Regions from separate parts of the Homo sapiens genome. Here all the other regions are linked to region 2. The links are contacts of gene promoters, found by promoter capture Hi-C in human tissues and cell types (Jung and others, 2019). All regions are on one chromosome and are shown on one strand. Each heading gives the region's core, a stretch centred on a gene start or on the middle of the fragment in contact. The rest is flanking DNA. Distances are from core to core; before and after follow the strand shown.

Region 1 (4,384 bases), core at 643-3,142, 400 kb before region 2:
GACCACTTGTACTAGAAAACTGTATTCAAGAGGATATATAAAAGGATTGTAGATATGCAAGTGCCATTTACTTCTGGCATGCAAGGATGGTTCAACATATTCAAGCAAATCAATGTGATATACCACTTGAACAGAATGAAAGATGAAAACCACATCATCTCAACAGATGGAGAAAAATCATTTCACAAAATTCAGCATCTGATCATCATAGAAATCTTAAACAAAATAGATGGAGAAGGAAATTTACCTCACCAATAGAAAGACCATTGATGAAATGACCAATGTGGAGATAACCAAGCAGGGAAAATAGAATCCTTTTCCCGTAGGATCTCACATGATGCAAGAACGTTCTCACTTTTTCTATTCAATAAATACTGGAAGTCCTAGCCAGAGCAATGAACTAGCAAAAGAAATGAAATGCCTCAAAATCAGAAAAAGTAAAATTATATTTTTTGTAGATGACATGATCTTCTGTGTAGAAAATCACAAAGAGTCAACCAAAATACTACTGTGACTAATAAACACATCAGTAGATTTGCACAATACAATATCAGCACCAAAAATTCGTTGAATTTTCATACATTAACAATAAACAATTTTAAATGAAAATTTAAAAACACTTCCATTTGCTAGAGAACTTAAAGTAAGAAATAGGAATAAATGGAAAGAAGTGAGAAATTCATACATTGAAATCTACAAACATTGATCAAAATGATTAAAAACATATATAAAGATATAACCCATATTGATGTTTTGGAAAAATTAATACTGTTAAATGATTACATAACCCAATGTGATTTTGATTCAACACAATACCCATAAAAATCTCTATCAGTTTTTGTTGAAGAAACAAAAAACAGACTGGGAAAGGTGCTCACCTCTGTTGGCCAGGCTGCTCTCAAACTCCTGATCTCAAGTGATCTACCTGTCTTGGCCTCCCAAAGTGCTGGGATTACAGGTGTGAGCCACCGCACCTGGCCTAATCCTCTTAACATAAACACTTTAATCTCAACAAATACTTGAACTCAATGTTAAGTCAACTCAAACTGAACTCAATGCTGATTTGAATCTAACATCAATTGTGCTTGATGGTTTGCTATACTCATTGCATTTGAAATTATTACCTCAAAAATGAATTTCCTGATGTCCTGCAAGGAGTGACCTCAGACTAAAGATCTTGCCACACATATGACTTTTGTAAGATCTCTGTCTAGTATGGATTCTCTGATGTGTAATGAGGCATGAACCTGAAATAAAGGCTTTGACACAATCATCACCCTTGTGAGGTTTCTTTCTTGTATGAATTCACCTGTGTTTTGCATAAGATGAAGCTTGACTGAAGACCTTGCCACAATCATCACATTTGTAAGGTTTCTCTCCAGTATGAGTTCGCTGATAAACTGCAAGGTATGAACGAAGTCTGAAAAATTTGCCACATTTATAACACTTGTAAGTTCTCACTTCATTATGCATTCTCCAATAATTTGCAATGGTTGTAGCATTACTGAGGACTTTGTGACAATCATTACATTAGTAAAGTTTCCCTATGACATGGATTGCTTGATGGTGAATAAGTGTTGACTGACCACTGAAGGCTCTGTCACACTCATCACACTTGCACGGTTTCTCTCCAGTGTGAATTCTAGTATGTTGTGCCAGGTGTGAATCACACCCGAATGCCTTGTCACAAACCTTACATTTCTATGGTTTCTCTCCAGTATGAACTCTCCTATGTATTTCAAGGCGTGAATTGAAATTGAAAACTTTGTCACATTCTTCACATTTGTAAGGTTTTTCTCCGATATGAACTCTATGATGATGTTCAAGGTTTGATTTTCAATTAAAAACCTTGCCACATTCATTACACTTGTAAGGTTTCTCTCCAGTATGAAGTCTATGATGACATGCAAGGTTTGATTTGTGATTAAAAACCTTGCCACATTCATTACACTTGTAACATTTCTCTCCAGTATGAATGACCTTATGCATTACAAGAGATGAATTTTGAACAAAGGTCTTGCCACACTCATTACACTTGTAAGGTTTCTCTCCAGTGTGAATTACAATATGTTGTGCCAGGTGTGAATCACGTCTGAAAGCCTTGTCACAAACCTTACATTTGTACGGTTTCTCTCCAGTATGAATTCTCCTATGTCTTTCAAGGTGTGATTAGCGACTAAAAACTTTGTCACATTCTTCACATTTGTAAGGTTTCTCTCCAGTATGAAGTCTATGATGACTTGCAAGATATGCTTTTTGATTAAAAACCTTGCCACATTCATTACACTTGTGAGGTTTCTCTCCAGTATGAATTGCCTTGTGAATTACAAGGGATGACTTGTAACTGAAGGTCTTGCCACACTGATTACACTTGTAAGGTTTCTCACCAGTGTGACATCTATGATGGTATGCAAGGTATCGCTTCTGATTAAAGACCTTGCCACATATATCACATTTATATTTTTTCTCTCCTAAATGGATTATCTGACATTTTTTTAACAGTGAGCTACAATTAAAGGCTTTGCCACTCTCATTACATTGGAAAGATTTTTCTCTCATGTGTGCTTCCTGGAGGAAATTATTCCCATACTTATTAGAAATATGGGTTTTAGGAATACAAGAAATTCTTTGGGATGCTGAAACTGAGGAAGCATCATTGACAGACTTCTCATCTTGACTATCAATTTTCCCTTTGCTCTGCAATATATGCAGTTCAGGCAGATGTGAATGAAAGCTTGATCCAAGCTGATCTTTAATAGGTTTGTTTCCAGCATGCCTTTGATCATATCAGTCTGTATTACCTGTCAACTTTTTTATCTCTGTCATGAGTGCTTCATGGCCATTTCTTTCATCTTCTTGCCACTGAAACTCAAAGTCCTGAAAATCTTTCTCAATTTCCTGGAAGGAAAAATCTCCAGTGTGATGACTTGCTTGTCTTTGCAATGTCCCTGTGTGGAACACTTCTGTATTGCCTTGCCTTCTTGATGAGAACTTCCTTGTCATGCATTTGGAAGAGATAGCTACAAAATATAAACAACAATAGGTTTCCAATTAAGTGCAGATGGTAAATAATACTGAAATATGTAACTAGGACACAAAAAACAATATTTATTTTGAAATTCCCAAACATGATTTTCAAAGTTTAAGAACACAAAAGGAGTAAGGTTCTTTAATAAATAAAGGGCGATTACAAGTCCTTTAAATCATTTCTACAGAAGCCTATTCCCAATATCATGACGAAACACTGACAGGGCACAAACATGTGTAAGCCTAAAGTAAGGAGTGTTTTTCCACTGTGACCCTAAAATGTATCACAGTTTGCAAAAAGCATATTACTGTCACATCAAAGAAGGAAAAAATATATATTCTTCATATTTATAGCATAGAGTATACAAATAAATGCTAAAGGACCGGATAACGTACTATATTGGTAAATAATCCACAACAAGCTCTTGTAAGGATAATCAAAATCAATGGAAATTCTGTATTGTCAAACAATCACAGCACTGAGAAGATAAGAAAAGAATACAAAAATTAGCCAGGCATGGCGGCCCATGCCTGTAATCCCACTACATGAGAGGCTGAGACACAAGAATCACCAAGAGGCAAAGGCTGCAGTGAGTCAATATCGCACCACTGCACTCCAGCCTGGATGACAAAGTGAGACTCCATCTCAAAAAAAAAAAAAAAAGCAGGGCATGGTGGCTCACACCTGTAACTCCAGTACTTGTTTGGGAGGCAGAGGCAGGTGGATTACCTCAATACAAAAAGTAGCCGGTAGCCAGGCATGGTGGTGGGCACCTGTAATCCCAGATACCTGAGAGGCTGAGGCAGAAGAATTGCTTGAATCCGAGAGGCAAAGATTGTGGTAAGCTGAAATCGTGCCACTGCACTCCACCCTGGGCGACAGAGTGATACTCCATCCCCCAAAAAAGAAAATGTGAATACCATATTTTTCTGAATAACTGTGAAAAATTTCCTATATCCATGTGGAACAGGCACTTTGTGACTTTTTAAAAAAATGTTTATTATTTTTATATTTTTGAGATGGAGTCTTGCTCTGTCACCCAGGCTGGAGTGCAATGGCACGATCTTGGCTCACTGCAACCTTTACCTCCTGGGTTCCAGTGAGTGTCTTGCCTCAGCCTCCTGAATACCTTGGATTACAGGCAAGCACCAGCATGCCCGGCTAATTTTTGTATTTTTAGTAGAGATGGGATTTCACCATGTTGGCCATTTGGGATTACGGGCATAAGCCACTGCACCCAGTGGCACTTTGTGACATTAATGAGTGCAGTGTGTCAGTTATATTGCATGCCACATACTGAATACTCACATGTAAAGTCATAAAATTCAATTAACAAAATATTGTAACCAACGATAA
Region 2 (3,920 bases), core at 1,421-3,920:
TGAGAGCAAGAGAAGGCGTGTGGGTCCCTGTGTCCATGGACTGACCGTGGGAGGCCTCGCCATCCGTCCATATTTTGACTGAAGTATTCAAAGCCATTTTAAATAGATCCAAAATATTCTTTAATTGCAGTGATTATGGGACTAATTGCAGTCACAGCTACGGCCTCTGTGGCAGGAGTTTCATTGTACTCTTCTGCTCAGACAGTAAACTTTTTTAATTATTGGCAAAAGAATTCTACAAGATTGTGGAATTCATAATCTGGTATTGATCAAAAATTGGCAAATCAAATTAATGACCTTAGACACAATGTTGTTTGGATGGGAGATAGGCTCACGAGCTTGAAACATCATTTCTGGTTACACTGTGACTGGAATATGTCACATTTTTGTATTACATCCTAAGCCTATAATGAGTCTGAGCATCATTGGGACATGGTTAGATGCCATCTACAAGGAAGAGAAGATGATCTTACTTTAGACATTTCAAAATTAAAAGAAAAATTTTTGAGGCATCAAAAACCCATTTAAATTTGGTGCCAGGAACTGAGGCAATCGCGAAAGCTGCTGATGGCCTCGCAAATCTTAACCCGGTCACTTGGGTTAAAACCATCGCAAGTTCCACTATTGTAAATTTCATATTAATCCTTGTGTTCCTGTTCTGTCTGTTGTTAGTCTGCAGGTGTACCCAGCAGCTCCGAAGAGACAGCGACCATTGAGAATGGGTGATGACGACGATGGTGGTTTTGTCAAAAAGAAAAGGGGGAAATGTGGGGAAAAGAAAGAGAGATCAGACTGTTACTGTGTCTATGTAGAAAAGGAAGACATAAGAAACTCCATTTTGATCTGTATTAAGAAAAATTGTTCTGCTTTGCGATGCTGTTAATCTGTAACTTTAGCCCCAACCCTGTGCTCACAGAAACATGTGCTGTATTGAATCAAGGTTTAATGGATTTAGGGCTGTGCAGGGTGTGCCTTGTTAACAATATGTTTGCAGGCAGTATGCCCGGTAAAAGTTATCGCCATTCTCCATTCTCTGTTAACCAGGGACACAATGCACTGCGGAAAGCCGCAGGGACCTCTGCCCTAGAAAGCCTGGGTATTGTCCAAGTTTCCCCCCACTGAGACAGCCTGAGATATGGCCTCATGGGAAAAGAAAGACCTTATATCCCCCAACCCGACACCCGTGAAGGGTCTGTGCTGAGGAGGAGTAGTGAAAGAGGGAGGCCTCTTTGCAGTCAAGATAAGAGGAAGGCTTCTGTCTCCTGCTCATTTCTGGGAATGGAATGCCTCGGTGTAAAGCCGACCATTCATTCTATTCTGAGGTAGGAGAAAACCGCCCTGTGGTTGGAGGTGAGACATGCTGGCAGCAATACTGCTCTGTGACTCTTTGCTACACTGAGATGTTTGTGTGAAGAGAAACATAAATCTAGCCTACGTGCACATCCAGGCACAGTACCTTTCCTTGAACTTATTCATGACACAGATTCCTTTGCTCACGTTTCCCTGCTGACCTTCTCGCCACCATCACCCTGTTGCCCTGCCACACTCCCCTCACAAAGATAGTAAAAATAGTGATCAATAAATACTGAGGGAACTCAGAGACCAGCGCCGGTGCGGGTACTCGCACACTGAGCTCCGGTTGTCTGGGCCCACTGCTGTTTCTCTATACTTTGTCTCTGTGTCTTATTTCTTTTCTCAGTTTCTCATCTCCACCTGATGAGAAACACCCGCAGGTGTGGAGGGGCAGGCCCCCTTCAGGCTGAGGCAGGGGAATCACTTGAACCCAGGAAGCAGAGGCTTGCAGTGAGTCGAGATCCCACCACTGCACTGCAGCCTGGATGACAGAGAAATACTCTGTCTCAAAACAAAAGAAAAGAAATAAGTAAATACATAAAAGAAAGTAACAGATCTCTTCCACAAATGTGGAATGGACAACTAACTGGATATCCACATGGAAAAGAACAATGTTGGATCCCTATCTCATACAATCAACCTCTTATTTTAAAACGTAAAAAAAAAACAACGAAAAATAAAGAGAGAAAGAGAGAAACGAGGAAGGGAGCCCTGCGGGAGGGGGTGTTACTTTGTCGCCCAGGCTGGCCTGGACCCCCAGGTTCAGCGATCCTCCCGCCCTGCTTCCTGAGTAGATGGGACCTCAGGCTCCCGCGCCCGCGTCCGCATCCTTGCTGTGTTTATCCGGCAGGTGGTGACCTCACTCCTCGCTGGCCTGAGCACTCCGTCCAGCATCCCAGGCGGTGGCTTTAGGGAAGTCTCTGCAGCTGAGCACAGGGTGGACTCTCCCTCCGGAGTGAATGGAGAATAGAAAGGGAGAGGATTTCTATTCTATTCTCTGGGCCGTCAGCATGACATTGTAAGTTCTGCCCAAGCAGGGCTTTGCATTTCACATTCTACTTTGCATCCGCGTTTCAGACAATTCCAGGGCTTTTGAATCATGGATCGGCCTTCCTGGCCATCTCGCCTCCAAAACCCAAAAACAGAGGCGGTGGGAGGGAGGCTGAGAGACGCACAGATCCCGCCCCAGCCCAGCCCCGCCCCGCCCTCTGCCGGTACTAAAGGGCAAGGTCTCTCCGCCTCTACCCCTACCTGGCCCAGGCCCCGCCCACCTCCTCGCAGGCCCCGCCCAGGCCTGGCTTCTGTCCTTCCCCGCTCAGACGCGCGCAAACCCGGAAGCAGATCGCGTGGAGTGAAGGTCCCTCAGCGGCGCGTGAGTTTCGCTCCATCTTGTATGAAGTCTGCTCTTCCCAGGTCCCCGGCGCTTCTGTCCCTGGGACGTGGGGTCCCTACAGACCTGGAAATTCTCACCCGTCTTCCTTCGCCCAGAGCAAATTGAGACGTCCCCGTGAGAGCCCGGGGGTCACTTCCTTTTGGGTTTAAAGTCTCCCTGAGGCTGGTCCCGTTCCGGATCTTTCTGCTATAGGGCAATATATACACTTTCTATCGCGTAGTTTTCCTGCTCTAAACCTTTTTCTGACTCCTCCCGCCCCGCGCTTTTTAAAGTCCTCACCCGAGAGGTGAATTCCCGCCCTGGGCGCCTCCCAGCCTCGCCCTCGTCGGCCCCTAGAGCGCAGCGTCGCAGCTCCGGTCCCGGGGAGGCCGAGTTCTCTGCCTGTCCTGGGATCCTACAAACCCCACCCTTGTCTTAAGGCGCCGTCGCCCCCCACGTCCCTCCTCATGCCGGGCCCTGCTGCTCCCCAGGTCTCCCATCCGCAGTCACAGCTTGCCCTGAGCCTGCGTTAGGGGAGGTGCCCGGGTTCTGTCCTGTGACACGGGGTGTTCTTGCCTGCCCAGTTCCAGCCCCTGGAAAATAAGCTCCTCCGGGATGCAGGCGTCTTACTCCAAACCCTCCTGTGATTGTGTGGGCCAAAGGGATCGGGAGACAGACAGCAGTAGAAAACCTGAGACAGAGAAAAGAAGAATGAGAAAGGCCCATAACAGATGGCAAAGTAGAGGATGGGTGAGGGATTTGCCAAGAGACAGCAAAAGTGAAAAAAAAAAAAAAAAAGATAAGCAGGAGGAGAAAAGCAACTAGAGAAATGTAGAGAAAAGCTAGATGTACAGAGAGATGAAGGACAGCAAGGTAGGGAGAGGGACAGCAAAGAGGGAGGCTCATCAGGGTGAGGGAGAGGAGGAGGGATTTGGAGCCAGGGCAGACAGAGCAGAGTGGTGCTGGTGGCAAAGAGAACAGAGGGAGAACCACAGCAGGGAGGACACCTGGGGATCTGGGGTGCCAGAGAGTGGGGACAGGGGGTATAACAGAGAAGAGAGAATTTAACGGGGAGAGCAGAGGAGGCGCAGAGATGGTGTTGCGGGAAACTGAGGACTAGAGAGACTGATATGGGGGAGACAGGAGGATGTTTATTTAAGGTACACAGCGGCTCAGCAGATTTACATCTAAAAAG
Region 3 (4,531 bases), core at 613-3,112, 480 kb before region 2:
CTTGGGAATCTGAGGCAGGAATCATTTGAACCCAGGAGGCGGAGGTTGCAGTGAGCCAAGATAGTGCCACTGCACTCTAGCCTGGGCAACAAGATGAGATTCCATCTCAAAAAAAATAAAATAAGATAAATAACTACTTCTCATATAAGCTTTGGTAGATGTGGTATTCTCTAATAGGATGTTCCTGCAGATGCAGACTTTGAGAGAATTTAGTCATGGGTGTTGACTCCTCATGAATAGGACTAGTGCATTTATAGAGACATTAAAGAGCTCATTGCCTGTTCCTCTTTCTACCATATTGGGACATGGCAGGAAGATGGCTGGGCTAAACCGTGAAGAAGCCTCTCACCAGGAATCAATTTGGCTGGCACCTTGCTCTTGGATTTCCCACTTTCCAAATTCATGAGAAATAAATTTCTGTGTCTTAAGCTTCCCAGTTTAAGCTACTTCCTTTTTCGTTTATTCTTCAGATCGAGTCACGCTCTTATCACCCAGGCTAGAGTGTACTGGCAGGATTCTCCTACCTCAACTGATTCTCCCTCCTCAGCCCAGAGTCTCACTCTGTTGCCCGGGCTGGAGTGCAGTGGCGTGATCTCAGCTCCCTGCAACCTCCACCTCATGGGTTCAAGTGATTCTCCTGCCTCAGCCTCCCAAGTAGCTGGGATTATAGGCGCAAGTCACCATGCACAGCTGGTTTTTGTGGTTTTAGTAGAGATGGGGTTTTACCATATTGGCCAGGCTTGTCTTGAACTCCTGACCTCAAGTGATCAACCTGTCTCAGCCTCCCAAAGTGCTGGGATTTTAGGTGTGAGCCACTGCGCCTGGCCCATTTTTGGCATTTAGTACATTCCAGGTTTCACCATGTTGGCCAGACTGTTTTCAAACTCCTGACCTCAAGCAATCTACCCACCTTGGTCTTTGAAAGTGCTAGGATTAGAGGCATGAGCCACCGTGGCCAGTCAGTCTAAGCTATTTCTAACAGTGAAATGACAGAGAAAGGAACAGGAGCATCTCATCATCAACATCACCACAGGCTGACAAATCTTATTAAACAAAGGATGTTTAGGGTCTCTACTATAAATCTTGCAATACTTGAAGCCATCTAATAGCACTAACATGTTTTAAAAACCTTGAGACATGTAGGGCATGGTAATCCCAGCATTTTGGGAGGATGAGGTGGGAGATTCCTGAGGTCAGGAGATCAAGACCATCCCAGCTAACAAGGTAAAACCCCATCTCTGCTAAAAAAAAATACAAAAAAATTAGCCTGGCATGTTGGCACTCGCCTGTAGTCCCAGCTACTTGAGAGGCTGAGGCAGGAGAATCACTGGAATTTGGGAAGTGGAGGTTGCAGTGACCCAAGATCACACCACTGCACTTTAGCCTGGGTGAGAGACTGAGACTGTGTCTCAAAGAAAAAATAAATAAATGACAGAAGGCTAAAGAATAACTCCAACCCACAAACATATATAAAGTTCTCCAGTAAAGGTAAATAAAAAAAACGGGTAGGCTGGGCATGGTGGTTCATGCCTATAATCCCAGCACTTTGGGAGGGCAAGCCAGGCGGATCACCTGGGGTCAAGGGTTCGAGACCAGCCTGGACAACAAGGAGTAAACCCTGTCTCTACCAAAAATACAAAATTAGGCCAGGCGTGGTGGCTCATGCCTGTAATCCCAGCACTTTGGGAGGCTGAGGTGGGTGGATCACAAGGTCAGGAGATCGAGACCATCCTGGCTAACACAGTGAAACCCCGTCTGAACTAAAAATACCAAAAATTAGCCAGGCATAGTGGCCAGCACCTGTAGTCCCAGCTACTCAGGAGGCTGAGGCAGGAGAACTGCTTGAACCTGGGAGGTGGAGGTTGCAGTGAGCTGAGATTGCACCATTGCACTCCAGCCTGGGAAACAGGAGTGAAACTCTGTCTCAAAAAAATAAATAAATAAATAAAACAATAAAAATACAAAATTAGCTGGGTGTGGTGGCGCATGCCTGTAATCCCAGCTACTCGACAGGCTGAGGCAGGAGAATTGGTTGAACCGGGGAGGTGGAGGTTGTGGTGTCAAGATTGCAGCACTGCACTTCAGCCTGGGTGACAAGAGCAAAACTCTGTCTCATAAATACATAAATTAATTAATTAATAAAAGGACAGATACAGAAACTCGCATACGTATACCTTTTCTTCATAACTAAACTTTTTTTCATATTATTAAAAATGAAAATGTATGAAAAAACACTGTACATATATGTTAACAGAAATGCAACATACACAAAAATAACTCTGACAAAAATAAAAAAGTTCTACTGGAGAAGAAGTAGTTTTTGTAGGTTATGGAATTTTTTTATTTTTATTTTTATTTTTTTGACATGGAGTCTCACTCTGTCTCCCAGGCTGGAGTGCAATGGTGCGATCTTGGCTCACTGCAACCTCCACCTCCCAGGTTCAAGTGACTCTCCTGCCTGAGCCTCCTGAGTAGCTGGGATTACAGCTGCCCACCACTGTGCCTGGCTAATTTTTGTAAATTTAGTACAGATGAAGTTTCATCATGCTACCCAGGCTGGTTCTGAACTCCTGACCTCAGGCGATCTGCCCACCTCGGCATCCCAGTGCTGGAATAACAGGTGTCAGCCACTGCACCTGGCCAGGTTATGGAAATTTTAAGCTTCATTATTGTGCTATAAGTTTAAGATGTTTAACATACCTGCAACAATAACCTCTCCCCATATATCAATACAACGCACTTCACTTCTGCGTACTGAACGGAATGGACACTAATGTGGTTGTTATATTCACACTGGAATCATGTTTAAACCACTTATGTTTACTAAGAACTAAAAGACAAAACTATTTAAAAGAATAACCATGGTTGGGCATGGCAGCTCGCGCCTGTAATCCCAGCATTTTGGGAAGCCGAAGCAGGTGAATCACTTGAGATAAGGAGTTTGAGACCAGCCTGAACAACATGGTGAAACCCCATCTCTACTAAAAACACAAAGTGAGCTGGGCATGGTGGTGAGCGCCTGCAGTCCCAGCCTCCAAGAAAGGTGGGGCACAAGAATCCTTTGAGCCTGAAAGGCAGAGGCTGCAGTTAGCCAAGATCGTTCCACTGCACTGTAGCCTGGATGAAAGAGTGAAACTATCAAAAGAAAAAGAAAGAAAAGAAGAAAGAAAGAAAGAAAAGAAAGAAAGAAGGAAGGAAGGAAGGAAGGAAGGAAGGAAAAGAAAAAACAAAACAAAAGAAAAGAAAAGAAGTAAATAAGGAAAGAGCAGAGGGATAAGTGAGGGCAAAGAAAGATGTCCCTTCAGAGATCTCAGGATTGAAACTTTTCTTTTGCCACAGAATTCTCCCACTTGCAGAGAGTTTCCCCACACACTATTTGAAGGTGGAGCTTCCACTCTGCCCATCTGAGCTCTTACCTGCGTTTACACCTGTAATACATTCCCACCCATCTGGAGTTTTTTGTTATTTTCACTTAACTCTCCACAGTCCAGGGCTCTTTCCCTTGCTCCAACATGGAGATAACAGGTCAGAAAGAGACTCGTGCTTATAAAAAGAAAGGACCATGATGTGCTGGAGCTTTTCTAGAGTCCCAGCCCTATATTTCTGTAGGAAAGAAGACATTACAGGTGGATCTAGGAAAATATTTCACAAATTCCTCCACTGACTGCCTCATTCTGAATGCTGTTGGAGCACTGTAATATGTAATATGTGGACATCGGGCTATCTTCCAAGAACTAATGAGTTGAAAGCACAGGAGAAGCAAACAGGGAACTGGATATGTTTAAAGTCTACCATAAGGTTTTGTTTTTGTTTTTTGAGACAGTCTTGCTCTGTCGTCTGGGCTGGAGTGCAGCGGTGTGTTCTCGGCTCACTGCAACCTTGGCCTCCTGGGTTCAAGCAATTCTCTCTCCTCAGCCTTTCTAGGAGCTGGGATTGCAGGTGTGCACCATGACGTCCGGCTAATTTTTGTATTTTTAGTAGAGACAGGGTTTCACCATGTTGGCCAGGCTGGTCTCAAACTCCTGACCTGAAGTGATCCACACACCTCAGTCTCCCAAGGTTCTGGGATGACAGGCATGAACCACCATGCCCAGCTTGCCATAAGGTTTTATGCCTACTTTAGTTCTGGAACCCACATTGAGGTATCATGAAGAACGCAGAACATCTAAACAAAGGGGACAGTGAAAGTCCAGATGCTACATCATGAAGCTTTTCATTTCAAAATCAATACAGCTTCCATTTTAGTCAAGCAAGGATGCAACTCCCAAGAGAAACAAGAGAAAATACAAAGATCCACAAGGGCACATCCCCACTTCTGGAGGGAAGTTATCCTCACCCAGGGAGACCAGGTTCCTATAATTCTCCAGCATCACGTCTCTGTATAGAGTCCTCTGAGCAGGGTCCAGGCATTTCCACTCCTCCTGAGAGAATTCTATGGCCACATCCCTGAATGTCAGTAGACCCTGAAAGGAAAACACATTTTAAGCAAATGGTTATGGGAGGAGATCTTATCTTTACAGAAAATGAGAAG

Evidence for each region. The method cuts DNA at HindIII sites, captures the fragments that hold promoters and counts their contacts. A contact is called where the count stands out against the background at its distance.
Region 1: a fragment that was not itself captured here is called in contact with the fragment with the promoter of ZNF525 in region 2 in 1 of the 25 tissues and cell types used here (spleen).
Region 3: a contact is called between a fragment that was not itself captured here and the fragment with the promoter of ZNF525 in region 2, in 1 of the 25 tissues and cell types used here (small bowel).

The regions. Positions count from the first base shown.
Region 1 is chr19:52,967,823-52,972,206 of GRCh38, forward strand. It overlaps the pseudogene ZNF702P. Among named protein-coding and RNA genes, the nearest start is that of ZNF816-ZNF321P, 7.1 kb to the left of the region's middle. The HindIII fragment of the contact is 4,137 bases long and covers 1-3,961 here.
Region 2 is chr19:53,363,035-53,366,954 of GRCh38, forward strand. It overlaps ZNF525 (zinc finger protein 525), which reads left to right and starts at 2,671. Exons shown (of 4, transcript NM_001348156.2): 1 at 2,671-2,725. RefSeq lists silencers at 2,559-2,608, 3,009-3,068 and an enhancer at 2,719-2,968. The HindIII fragment of the contact is 12,378 bases long and covers 1-3,920 here.
Region 3 is chr19:52,883,791-52,888,321 of GRCh38, forward strand. ZNF320 (zinc finger protein 320) reads right to left here. Exons shown (of 6, transcript NM_001351774.2): 5 at 4,337-4,463. Among named protein-coding and RNA genes, the nearest start is that of ZNF320, 12 kb to the right of the region's middle. The HindIII fragment of the contact is 3,146 bases long and covers 290-3,435 here.